Regions from separate parts of the Homo sapiens genome. Here region 1 is linked to region 2. Evidence: promoter capture Hi-C in human tissues and cell types (Jung and others, 2019). All regions are on one chromosome and are shown on one strand. The core of a region is centred on a gene start or on the middle of the fragment in contact, and the rest is flanking DNA. Distances in the headings are between cores, read along the strand shown.

The links. The method cuts DNA at HindIII sites, captures the fragments that hold promoters and counts their contacts. A contact is called where the count stands out against the background at its distance.
Region 1: a fragment that was not itself captured here is called in contact with the fragment with the promoter of B4GALT7 in region 2 in 3 of the 25 tissues and cell types used here (bladder, lymphoblastoid cells and thymus).

What each region holds. Positions count from the first base shown.
Region 1 is chr5:177,653,008-177,658,500 of GRCh38, reverse strand. It overlaps the pseudogene SIMC1P1. Among named protein-coding and RNA genes, the nearest start is that of B4GALT7, 56 kb to the right of the region's middle. The HindIII fragment of the contact is 6,089 bases long and covers 1-5,493 here.
Region 2 is chr5:177,596,605-177,601,819 of GRCh38, reverse strand. B4GALT7 (beta-1,4-galactosyltransferase 7) reads right to left here and starts at 1,688. Exons shown (of 6, transcript NM_007255.3): 1 at 1,560-1,688. The coding sequence starts at 1,609. TMED9 (transmembrane p24 trafficking protein 9) reads right to left here. Exons shown (of 5, transcript NM_017510.6): 5 at 4,578-5,215. RefSeq lists a silencer at 1,336-1,875 and enhancers at 2,056-2,235, 2,436-2,535. The HindIII fragment of the contact is 7,199 bases long and covers 1-4,230 here.

The DNA of each region.
Region 1 (5,493 bases), core at 1,339-3,838, 56 kb before region 2:
ACAAGTAATAGCTACAAAGTTTAAAAAGAAAAATAGAAAGTAAAATGATAATCTCGGTTTGTGTAATAATTTTCAGCCATGAACCTAGGATTCAAGGTTCAATTAAACCTTTGAATCAATTGAATAAATCAAATGACCACGGAGAACTAGGTGACACCTTTTGTAACTGTGTGGCCTGTTTTCTTATTTTGCATATATGGGTCTCAACTTTCCCAAAGGCCATTATCTAGTTACAGCATAAAGTATTAGCAACAGCACAGAAATTTCCTTATTTAACTAATAGATAATATAGACCAATTTTATCATCTAGGATCCCATGACTGGGTGGAATTAAAGCAGAGAGAGAGCAACAGTTGTATTAGGGATGTTGCCAAGGTCACCCACTAGATGGACTAAAGGATCCCTTAAACCAGTTTCTGTCAAGTTACCAACAGAAGCTGCTGATTGTGAAATTTCAATTACACTGTTATCCTGCCAAGTGAAAAAGGTAGGATTAAGAGGAGTAGGAGTCTGATTATGTAGTCTTGTTCTAACGTCTAGGGAAAAGCTGTCTGCAGCATGAAAATGTCAACTTATTGTCCTGGTTTTCAGTTTTGAACGTCTGGTTATGGCACTGGATGGTTTGGTGAACTTTCTGTGTGACTCATCATCAGCCATGAGACTTGCCCCTTAAAATTTATCTAGTTTTAGCTTTTAGGATTTCAGGAACAGAGCAGTTCCTGTTTTTACTAATTTCATGGAAGAAAAGATGGGAGGAATCTAGAAGAATTTAAGATTTAGTTCAGTCTACCAGTGTATAACAGGAACTCAAAGACAATGCACAGGGCTATAATCTAAGAACAGATGTATTAACAGCCTTACTCACTGTAAGGCTGGGAACCCTTGAAGCCAGGCATTATATGCACATTCTCAAATATGATGCTCTAGTTAAAGCCTTGGTAATATATATAACCAATGTTTCCAACTGCATCCTGTTATAAAGAGAGAGCAAATTTTATTAAACTTATGTAAATAATTCTTGCCATAAAAAATAAGAATACTCATGGATAGTTTCTGAATTTTAGAGGAATCAAATAGGGACAAAAAAAATGTTTCCACCTTTGTTCACAAAGTATACCAAATTACTGTAAACTAATAAGTAGCTTAAGAGAAAGAAAAGGTTTCCTTAAAGCTAGAAAACAAAATATTTAAATAAAGAACCTGGCTAGGCATGGTGGCTCATGCCTGTAATCCCAGCACTTTGGGAGGCCGAGGTGAGCAGATCACCTGAGGTCAGGGGTTCGAGACCAGCCTGGCCAACATGGTGAAACACTGTCTTTACTAAAACTACAAAAATTAGCCAGCATGGTGGTGGGCATCTGTAATCCCTGCTACTCCAGAGGCTGAGGTTGCAGTGAGCTGAGATCGTGCCACTGCACTCCAGCCTGAGCAACAGAGCAAGACTCCACCTCAAAAAAAAAAAGAACCAATAATGTTTCAAATAAAAGTCATAAAAACGTTATCTTCAGGACCGGGTGCTGTGGCTCATGCCTGTAATCCCAGCACTTTGGGAGGCTGAGGCGAGCTGATCACTTGAGGACAGGAATTTGAGACCAGCCTGGCCAACATGGTGAAACCCTGTCTCTACTAAAAATACAAAAAATGAGCTGGGTGTAGTGGCGCACATTCGTAACCCCAGCTACTCTGGAGGCTGAGAAAGGAGAATCGCTTGAACCTGGAGGCAGAAGTTGTAGTGAGCCAAGATCGTGCCACTGCACTCCAGCCTGGGTGACAGAGTGAGACTGTCTTTTTTTTTTTTTTTTTTTTTTTTAAAGAAAAAGAGCTAACTTGACTTTAAAGAGATGAAATGTACATGTAAAATAAAATTTTGTTTTCTGTGAAATTTTACTTCAGAAAATATCCTGACTAAAATAAACAAATTAAAAAATGAGTACTCCTAAAAAAAAAAAAAGAAAAGAAAAGAAAGAAAGAAAGTAAGAAAGCCAAGAGCACAGAATCAGGATATACTGGAGGAAAACAACTTTTCTAGGCCTTCAAGATAGAACATTTCAGTGTCAGGCCGTTAAAGCAGAGTTAGAGCTGGAGAAAAAAAGTTACAGAAGATGAAAAAGTTAAAAGAGAATTATCACCTCACCAAACAAAAAGATATACTGTCTCAAGGAGAGAAAGTGGAAGACCAAAAGGCAGAAATGTCTGACCTGCAAATCACATGAAACAAGATACAGCAAAAGTTTAACTACTGAGATGTGAATCTGAGAAGCTTCCACAGGAAAACTCTACCTCAAAATATGAAATTACCATTCTAAATGAAGAAGATTCATTTTAAAACTGATATTAGAGAAAGGAAGACTAAAAAACAAACAAACAAAAAAGCTGCACTTCAGAAGATAGTTGAAAATTTAAGAAACAAATTTCAGAATTAGGTCAAAATCTCTTGCAAATGTTATTAAAAGCAGATCAATACTTCAAGAAAACATTGTTCTAATATAGGAGACCAAAATTTTAGTTTTCATATCAATGTGTATATAAATATATATACACACATGTATTTTTTAATTGAAGCAGTCTTTAGAAATACTTATAAGTAAGTTTCTTCTAATTATAGCCAACTTGGTCACCACAAATTTCTTTTGTAAATTCATCCTTCGCAAACTTTCCATGATATGTTTAGACCTTCTATGGCATGTTTAGACCTTCAGTTTTGTCCTTCTTTCTTAAATAGTTAGTCATTTTACTTAAGGATAAAATTTAATTTCTTGCCTTATTTCTAAGACAACAACAAATCTAAGACTTGCTGTCATTTTAAAAACACCTTTTCTAAAAAGAAACACTACCACATGAAATGCACACATTAATTATAGTATACATCCTGGTTATATATGTATTATGGAAACATTCCACATATTAGATTATAAAATATGGTGTTATCAATTGTGTCAGTCATTTTAAAACAATTATCTTTTCTCCAATTATTTGTAACATTTTTTGTTTTAGAATCTCACTGTTACCCAACCTGGAGTGCAGTGGCAGAATCATAGCTCATTGCAGCCTTGAACTCCTGGGCTCAAGTAATCTCCTGCCTCAAGTCTCCTGAGTAGGCAGGACTATAGGCAGACACCACCATGCCTGGCTAATTTTTTAAATTAATTAATTTATTTTTTGGTAGAGACAGGGTCTCACTATGTTGCCCACACTGGTCTTGAACTCCTTGCCTCAAGTGGTCCTACCACATTGGCCTCCCAAAGCACTGGGATTACAACATGTGTGAGCCACTACACCTGGCCCGTAACATATTTTTATACCAAATTATTTTATTTACTTGTGTTTCTGGGTTTTCCATTATGTTTCATTGATTTCTTTATTCAATACCATAACTTTCCTGTTTTATTTTTATAGTTTGATATATCTTTCGGGATTTCATAAAGCAGTATATGTGTTAGGCTGTTCTTGCATTACTGTAAAGAAATCCCTGAGAATACTCATCTCTCACCTTATGCAAAAAATCAATTCAAGATGGATCAAAGACTTTTATATAAAAATTTTTTAAAATTAAAAAACAAAAGAAATGCCTAAGACTGGGTAATTGATCAAGAAAAGAGCTCACAGTTCCAAAGACTGTACAGGAAGCATGGTGCCGGCATCTGTTCACCTTCTGATGAGACTTCAGGAAGCTTACAATCATGGTGGAAGGCACAGTGGGAGCTGGCACGTCACATGGAGAGAGCAAGAGAGTGAGAGTGGGGGTGCGAAGGTGCCACAGATGCAAACAACCAGATCTCGCAATAGCTCATTATTGTGAAGACAGCACCAAGCCATGAGGGATCTGCCCCCATGACCCAAACACCTCCCACCAGGCCCCACCTCTAACCTTGGGGATTACAATTCAACATATGGGGAATACATACATATGTACGTATGTGTCTCCTTACTATTTTTCCCCCCAAAAAAATGTCCTGGCTATTTGTACCCATTTGTTCCCCCAAATGAATTTTAGAATAATTTTGTCAAAGACTGCATTAGATTGTTTCTTTGGGCCGTATAATTATTTGTTGCATGGGGTTGTCCTATGCACTGTAGGATATTTAATAGCATCTCTGACCTCTACCCGCTAGATGCCTGCCAGTAGTAACCCCTCAACTTGTGACAATCAAAAATGTCTCCAGACATTGCCAAATAGCCCCTGGGTAGGGGGTAAAATTGCACCAGTTCAGAACCACTACATTAGTTTTATAAGTTAATTAAAGGAGAGTTAATGTCTTTACAATATTGTCTTTCTAAGCAGAAGTATAGTATAACTTTCATTTTATGAGATTTGCTTCTTGGTGATCAGTAAAACTATAAGACTTCCTTGGGTTTGGTGCCTTTTTATGGAGCTAGTGTTTTGATTCTGAATGACTATGTGCTATGTAGGGTTAAACATATCAATCATGGTAAGCATCACATAATAAGAATAGCTGGCATTTATGCCAGGTACCATGTCAAGTGCTTTACTTGGATTAACTCATAATCTTCACTGCAACCCCATGAGGTAGGTAGTATTATTATCCCTGTTTGGTAAATGAGGAAACTAAGGTAGCTTCAACCAGATGCTAACTAGTAGAGCAGGTTTACCACTGCTTGTCTCCATCTTTAAGATCCTGGGGCAAACTTTTTCAAACCTCATACCAGGTTTCCAAGGGAACATCAGGTGGGGATGGTAGTAGTAAACAGTTAAGTGGAAAAAAGCAAGTCACAAAATATAATTCTATTTTTTAAACGGATGGTTTTGGAAAAATAGACTCACGAGAGTTTTTTAATACAAAAATTGTTTTTTAAAACTCCTTTTTTTTTTGAGATAGAGTCTTGCTCTCTCACCCAGGCTGGAGTGCAGTGGCACAATCGCATAAGTTAGTGAACTTATTAATATAATATTCACTACAGCTGTATGGAGCTGCCATAGAATAGAAAGGAAAATTCATCTACATTTTGAATTTAATACATCAGATGTGAAATTAACTTGGGTCTTAAATCAAGTTCAGCTTCCTTGAAAGCCTGCAGATCACTTCCAACATCCCTCATTTATCCTGAGCTGTCTTTGGGAGGTTGGTGGGTCTGGCTACCCATGAAGACAAAGTGTTCCTTCCTGTCTGGTAGGGATTTAGTTTTGTATTTTTGTATTAGCTAATTTGTAAAGTGTTACCTTATTCCAGTGGGTCTTTTAATAACAGCTTTATTAAAGTATAATTCCATACCATACCATAAAATTCTCTGAGTTGTGCAGCCATCACCACTATCTAATTTTAGAACATTTACTTCACTCCAGAAGGAAACCCTGTACCCTCCAGTGGGTTCTCTGATTTGCTTATGTTTTAAAGGTACATAATCATATCATTCGAAAAATAATTTTTTCCCATTTTAAATTATAAACATTAGGCTGGGTATGGTGGCTCACGCCAGTAATCCCAGCACTTTGGGAGGCTGAGGTGGACAGATCACTTGAGTTGGGAGTTCGAG
Region 2 (5,215 bases), core at 439-2,938:
AATTGTTCCTGGTGCCACCAGGTGGCAAACCAGATTTGCAGTCCCAGTGGCTCCCAGGCCCAGGCCACCCTGGCTCTGAGGGGCAGTCCAGAAGAGGCTTTGTCTCCCTCATCAATCACTGCCCAAGACTAGTAAAAGGCGGATTCAAACCCAGGCAGGCTGGCTCCAGAGCCTACACTAGATAGCTACACTAGCCTGCATCAGTTGCGTGGATCTTTGCACCAACCCTGTGTCAAAAGCACAGAATTGACATCAGTAAATTTCTCTGGAAACAGCTATGGAAAAGGATCAGGAAATAGAAATGCTCCTCTGTTACCTTTCCTTTCTTGTCTCATACAGACCTTCGTACTACGAGGTTTGAATCCTCAGCTGCTCTGGTTACAGGACCTCAAAACTGCAAAGGTAACGGGAAGACAACTGGCACCTCCTGTTGTGCTAGGCAGTGCCATGCTCTTTACATGTGTGCGGTCCTTTAATCCTCACACAGCCCTGCAGAGCCAATACTGTCATAACTGGCTCAGTGACGGAAAGGCTGCGGTCGGACAGATGCAGGGGTCTCTGCTCACATAATTACGGAGGACTCCTGCCCAGGTCGAACGCTAGTCCACGCTTTCTATTATATTCCTGTTTTCCCCTTTCAACACCAAGTCTGAAAAATCCCCAAAAGTACAAGTTGTGGCCACTAAATTCCAGAATCTTATGGCACCTGACGGACTTAAGAAACATGAAGGAAATGAGGTGTCATTCACGAGGAGGAGATCCAGTCATGTGTTCTGTGAGAAGACTTACAGGGACACATCTCAAGTGCCCCACGAATGGAGGCAGTCAAATCGCTTTCCCCATTCTGCTTTAGTGAGAAACAAAATTAGCTAAGGTGTGGGCCAAGCTCGCATCTTTCACGTAGGGCCAATACAGCTGCACAGGAAATGGACTAATGCGTGTATAAGGAGTGTCTAGTACGTGCCAGGCAGTGACCAGCCAGGCAGAGCACGGAGCTTCTGTCTGGTGGGTTCTGCTGGTGGCCTGCGAAGGATGGGGGGAAGTGTTAAGGAGGAAGGGTAGGGTCTGAGGCTATATGGATGTGATGAGGAAGGCAGAGACCAGAGAAACGGAATACACGTCCTCAGGGATCAGAGACAAATTGAGAAACACAAATCCATGGTGAGAGGTCAGCGGAGTCAGAGACCCGCATGCAGATAGAGGGAGGCTGGTGGAGAAACACAGACACAACGAAACACATAACGAGAGAGACTAGCAAAGAGGGGATCAGAAACTCACAAAGGGAAGTCAATGGAGAAATACGGACCCACGGGCCGGGGGGAAGGTGCTGGGGGAAGGACGAGTGCCGCGGAAAGGGAGAGGGGGCGGGGGAGGCAGAGACCCACAGGGACAGACAGAAACCGGAACAGAGCGCCAGGGACCCACAGGGAGAACCACACGCCCTCACAGAAACCCGCAGACATGGAGACGTGATGGCCTCGGGTTCCCAGATTCCGCCGGCGGCCGAGAAGGGAGCGGCGCCCGGGAGGACGGGGCCCGGGCCCACCGCCGCCGCTCACCTGCCGTCCTCCCAGGGCAGCTGCGCCGCTTTCCTCCGCGAGGGGAACATCGTGCGGAGAGGCGGCGGCGCATGGGGCAGGCGCTCGCAGCCCGGCCGGCCCGGCCTCCCGGGCCTACGCGGCGCCTCCGCCTCCCGCTCCGCCCAGGCCTGTCCGCCCCGCCCCCCGGTCCGCCGGGTCCGCCGCTCCGGCCGCGCCGCCAGCTCCCGGAGCCGCCGCCTCCAAGGTTCTGCTTGCGAGCAGCGCGGGCGCGCCTCCCTCTCTGGGCGGCTCCTTCCTAGCCGCCCCGGGACCCGCCTGGAAGCCCGAGAAACTGAAGCCCAGAGGCCCAGGGCCTCCCAACAAATCACTGGGCTGGGACTGGACCTAAGAGTCCAGACTCCCAAACCAACGCTCGGGGAGAATCTGCATCTCCGTCCTCTTTCCGAGGGGAGGCGGGAGCGTCCCGGGGTCCCCGTCTCGGCCCAGGCGGCGCGTTCTCCGCGCAAGCTTGGAGGGGCAAAGCCAAGCTCACGGCTCGGCGCTGAGTTCAGCTGACAGCCCGCGCAGGCGTTAGGAGCCGAGCCCTGAAGACAAGTTGACTGAATTTGAAACCCGACTCTGCTTGCCGGGCGCGGTGGCTCACGCCTGTAATCCCAGCACTTTGGGAGGCCGAGGCGGGCGGATCACGAGGTCAGGAGAGCGAGACCATCCTGGCTAACACGGTGAAACCCCGTCTCTACTAAAAATACAAAAAATTAGCCGGGCGTGGTGGCGGGCGCCTGTTAGTCCCAGCTACTCGGGAGGCTGAGGCAGGAGCATGGTGTGAACCCAGGAGGCGGAGCTTGCAGTGAGTCGAGATCGCACCACTGCACTCCAGCCTGGGTGACAGGGCGAGACTCCGTCAAAAAAAAAAGAAAAGAAAAAGAAAAAGAAACTAGACTCTGCCAATTCAGCTGTGTTTTGACCAAGCCACATCTCTGCATCTGTTTCCTCACCTGGGTATATCAATGGCTCCTATTCTATATGGTAGCTGTGGGGATTCAAGGAGAAAGTGCAAACACTTGTGCAGCGCTAGGCACACAGTTCAACGCCATATAAATGACAGCTGTCATCCAGGAAAAGGGTACTTTGGTGGAGCTGAGAACTGAAGAAGGGAATAGGAGACTGAGTTCCCATATCTGCCCCGTCACCGTGGGAACTTAACCATCCCCCTCACCCCCAGCCCCCCCACCCCTCCTACTAGCCTCCTACCTGGGGAAAGAAAGCGGCAATTGTTAGACTTGACCTCCTCTGCTCTTCCAGGCAAACTTTTAAGTTTCCTAATAGATAGCAAACATCTATTAAGTTCTTATTATGTGCCAGTCATTGTTAATAGTTCTTACTACATGAGGGTTATCTCACGTAGTCCTTATCGGTAGGTGCTTATCCCCAAGTTAAAATTGAGAGAACTGAGGCACAGAGAGGCAAATCAGGTAGTTTGGTTGCAAATCTATGGGTTTGGGGTTTTTGTTTTGTTCTTCCCCACAATCTATGATCTTAATCACTCTGCTCCAGAGAGAACTTCACCGTGGGTGGGAAATGAATCATTCCCAGTAACCCCTTTACCCCGTAAACCTGGAAGTATATAATCCACCCATTCCCCTTCCTGTTGACTCCCCCAGGGCACTGCATCCTACCCCAGAACCGTGGTCAATGCACAGCCCATCTAAAGGGGACCACTCCATCCGGTTAGCTGTTACTATATCAGGATGAAGCTCTACTTCAGATTGTCAGATTCACACTCTCAAGAAATCAGATCTCAAATGAAAACCCAAATTATCTAATTTTTAAATGTGATATCCAGCTAAGAGCCATGTTGATAATGACACTTCAACTCTGATCTCTTTTCTACTTTTTTATTTTATTTTATTTTATTTATTTATTTATTTTTTGAGACAGAGTCTCACTCTGTCAGTCAGGCTGGAGTGCAGTGGCACGATCTCGGCTCACTGCAACCTCTGCCTCCCGGGGTCAAGCAATTCTCCTGTCTCAGCCTTCCGAGTAGCTGGGATTACAGGCGCCTGCCACCACGCCTGGCTAATTTTTGTATTTTTAGTAGAGACGGGGTTTTACCATGTTGGCGGCTGGTCTCGAACTCCTGACCTCAGGTGATCCGCCTGCCTCTGCCTCCCAAAGTGCTGCGATTACAGGCGTGAGCCACCATGCCCAGCCTGTGGTCTCTTTTCAAAAACCCACAACTCTAGTCTAATCATGAGAAAAACATCAGACAAATCCTAGCTGAGAAATCGTACAAAATACCTGACCTGTACTCCTCAAAACAGTCAAGGAATCATCAAAAACAAGGAAGGTCTAAGAAACTGTCACAGCCAAAAGGAGCCTAAGGAGACACAGTGACTAAATGTGATGTGGAATCCTGGAACAGAAAAAGGACAGTAGGTAAAAACTAAGGAAGTCTGGATAAAGTAATGCATGATGTTACTAATAGGGAAAATGTCTTCACAATTTTTCTGCACTTTTAAAGCTGTTCTTTAAAAATACTTTTTTTTTTTTTTTTGACATGGAGACTTGCTCCGTTGCTCAGGCTGGAGTGCAGTGAAGTGATCTCGGCTCACTGCAAGCTCCGCCTCCTGGGTTCACGCCATTCTCCTGCCTCAGCCTCCCAAGGAGCTGGGACTACAGGCGCCCACCACCACGCCTGGCTAATTTTTTGTATTTTTTTTTTTTTTTTTTTTTGTAGAGATGGGGTTTCATCATGTTAGCCAGGTTGGTCTCGATCTCCTGACCTCGTGATCTGCTCGCCTTGGCCTCCCAAAGTGTTGGGGTTACAGGTGTGAGCCACCGCTCCCGGCCTTTTTTTTTTTTTTTTTTTGAGACAGAGTCTCACTGTAGCCCAGGTTGGAGTGTAGTGGTGTGATCTTGGCTCACTGCAACCTCTGTCTCCTGGGTTCAAGCAATTCTGCCGCCTCAGCCTCCCAAGTAGCTGGGATTTCAGGCATGCGCCACCACACCTGGCTCATTTTTTGTATTTTTAGTAGAGATGAGGTTTCACCATGTTGGCCAGGCTGGTCTCAAACTCCTGGCCTCAGGCCATCCACCTACCTCAGCCTCCCAAAGTGCTGGGATTACAGGTGTGAACCACCGTGCCCGCCAAAAAACTTTTTTTTTTCATGTGGAAGAATTAGTTGGCAGCATGAGCCCAGATTGCATCATCCCATTAGGGGAAGCAGCCCCCAAACTTGTCTCCTTCTTCCTGGTCTTTCTCACACACTGCTGTAACCTCCCTCACATTTCTTATTAGAAGGTTCTTCTCAAAACTGCCTGCCCATTTGCCTCCCCCAACCCCCAACAGCAGCCTCACATCCCTGATCAATAACACTGTGATTCTGAGGTGCCAGTAGGGCTCTCAGTGGCTTTACCAGACCCTGGGTGATTACTGCAAAGGGCCCAGAGGCCAGAGGGAGGGGGGCAGGCATTTACCCCACCACCTGCTCAGTATTAAGCCAGCCAAGCTGCTGCCTTCAGCTTGTGCCTGTGGGTGCCTGCAGCCCCTCTTGAAAGGTGGGCATGTCCAAATCGCTTACCTGGAGCTCGAGGCTTCTCTAATCCAACCTTCCTTTCCAGCTTCCTCACAACACCCTCTGCAGCTGAAATTAAACACCCACCCACCTCCATTC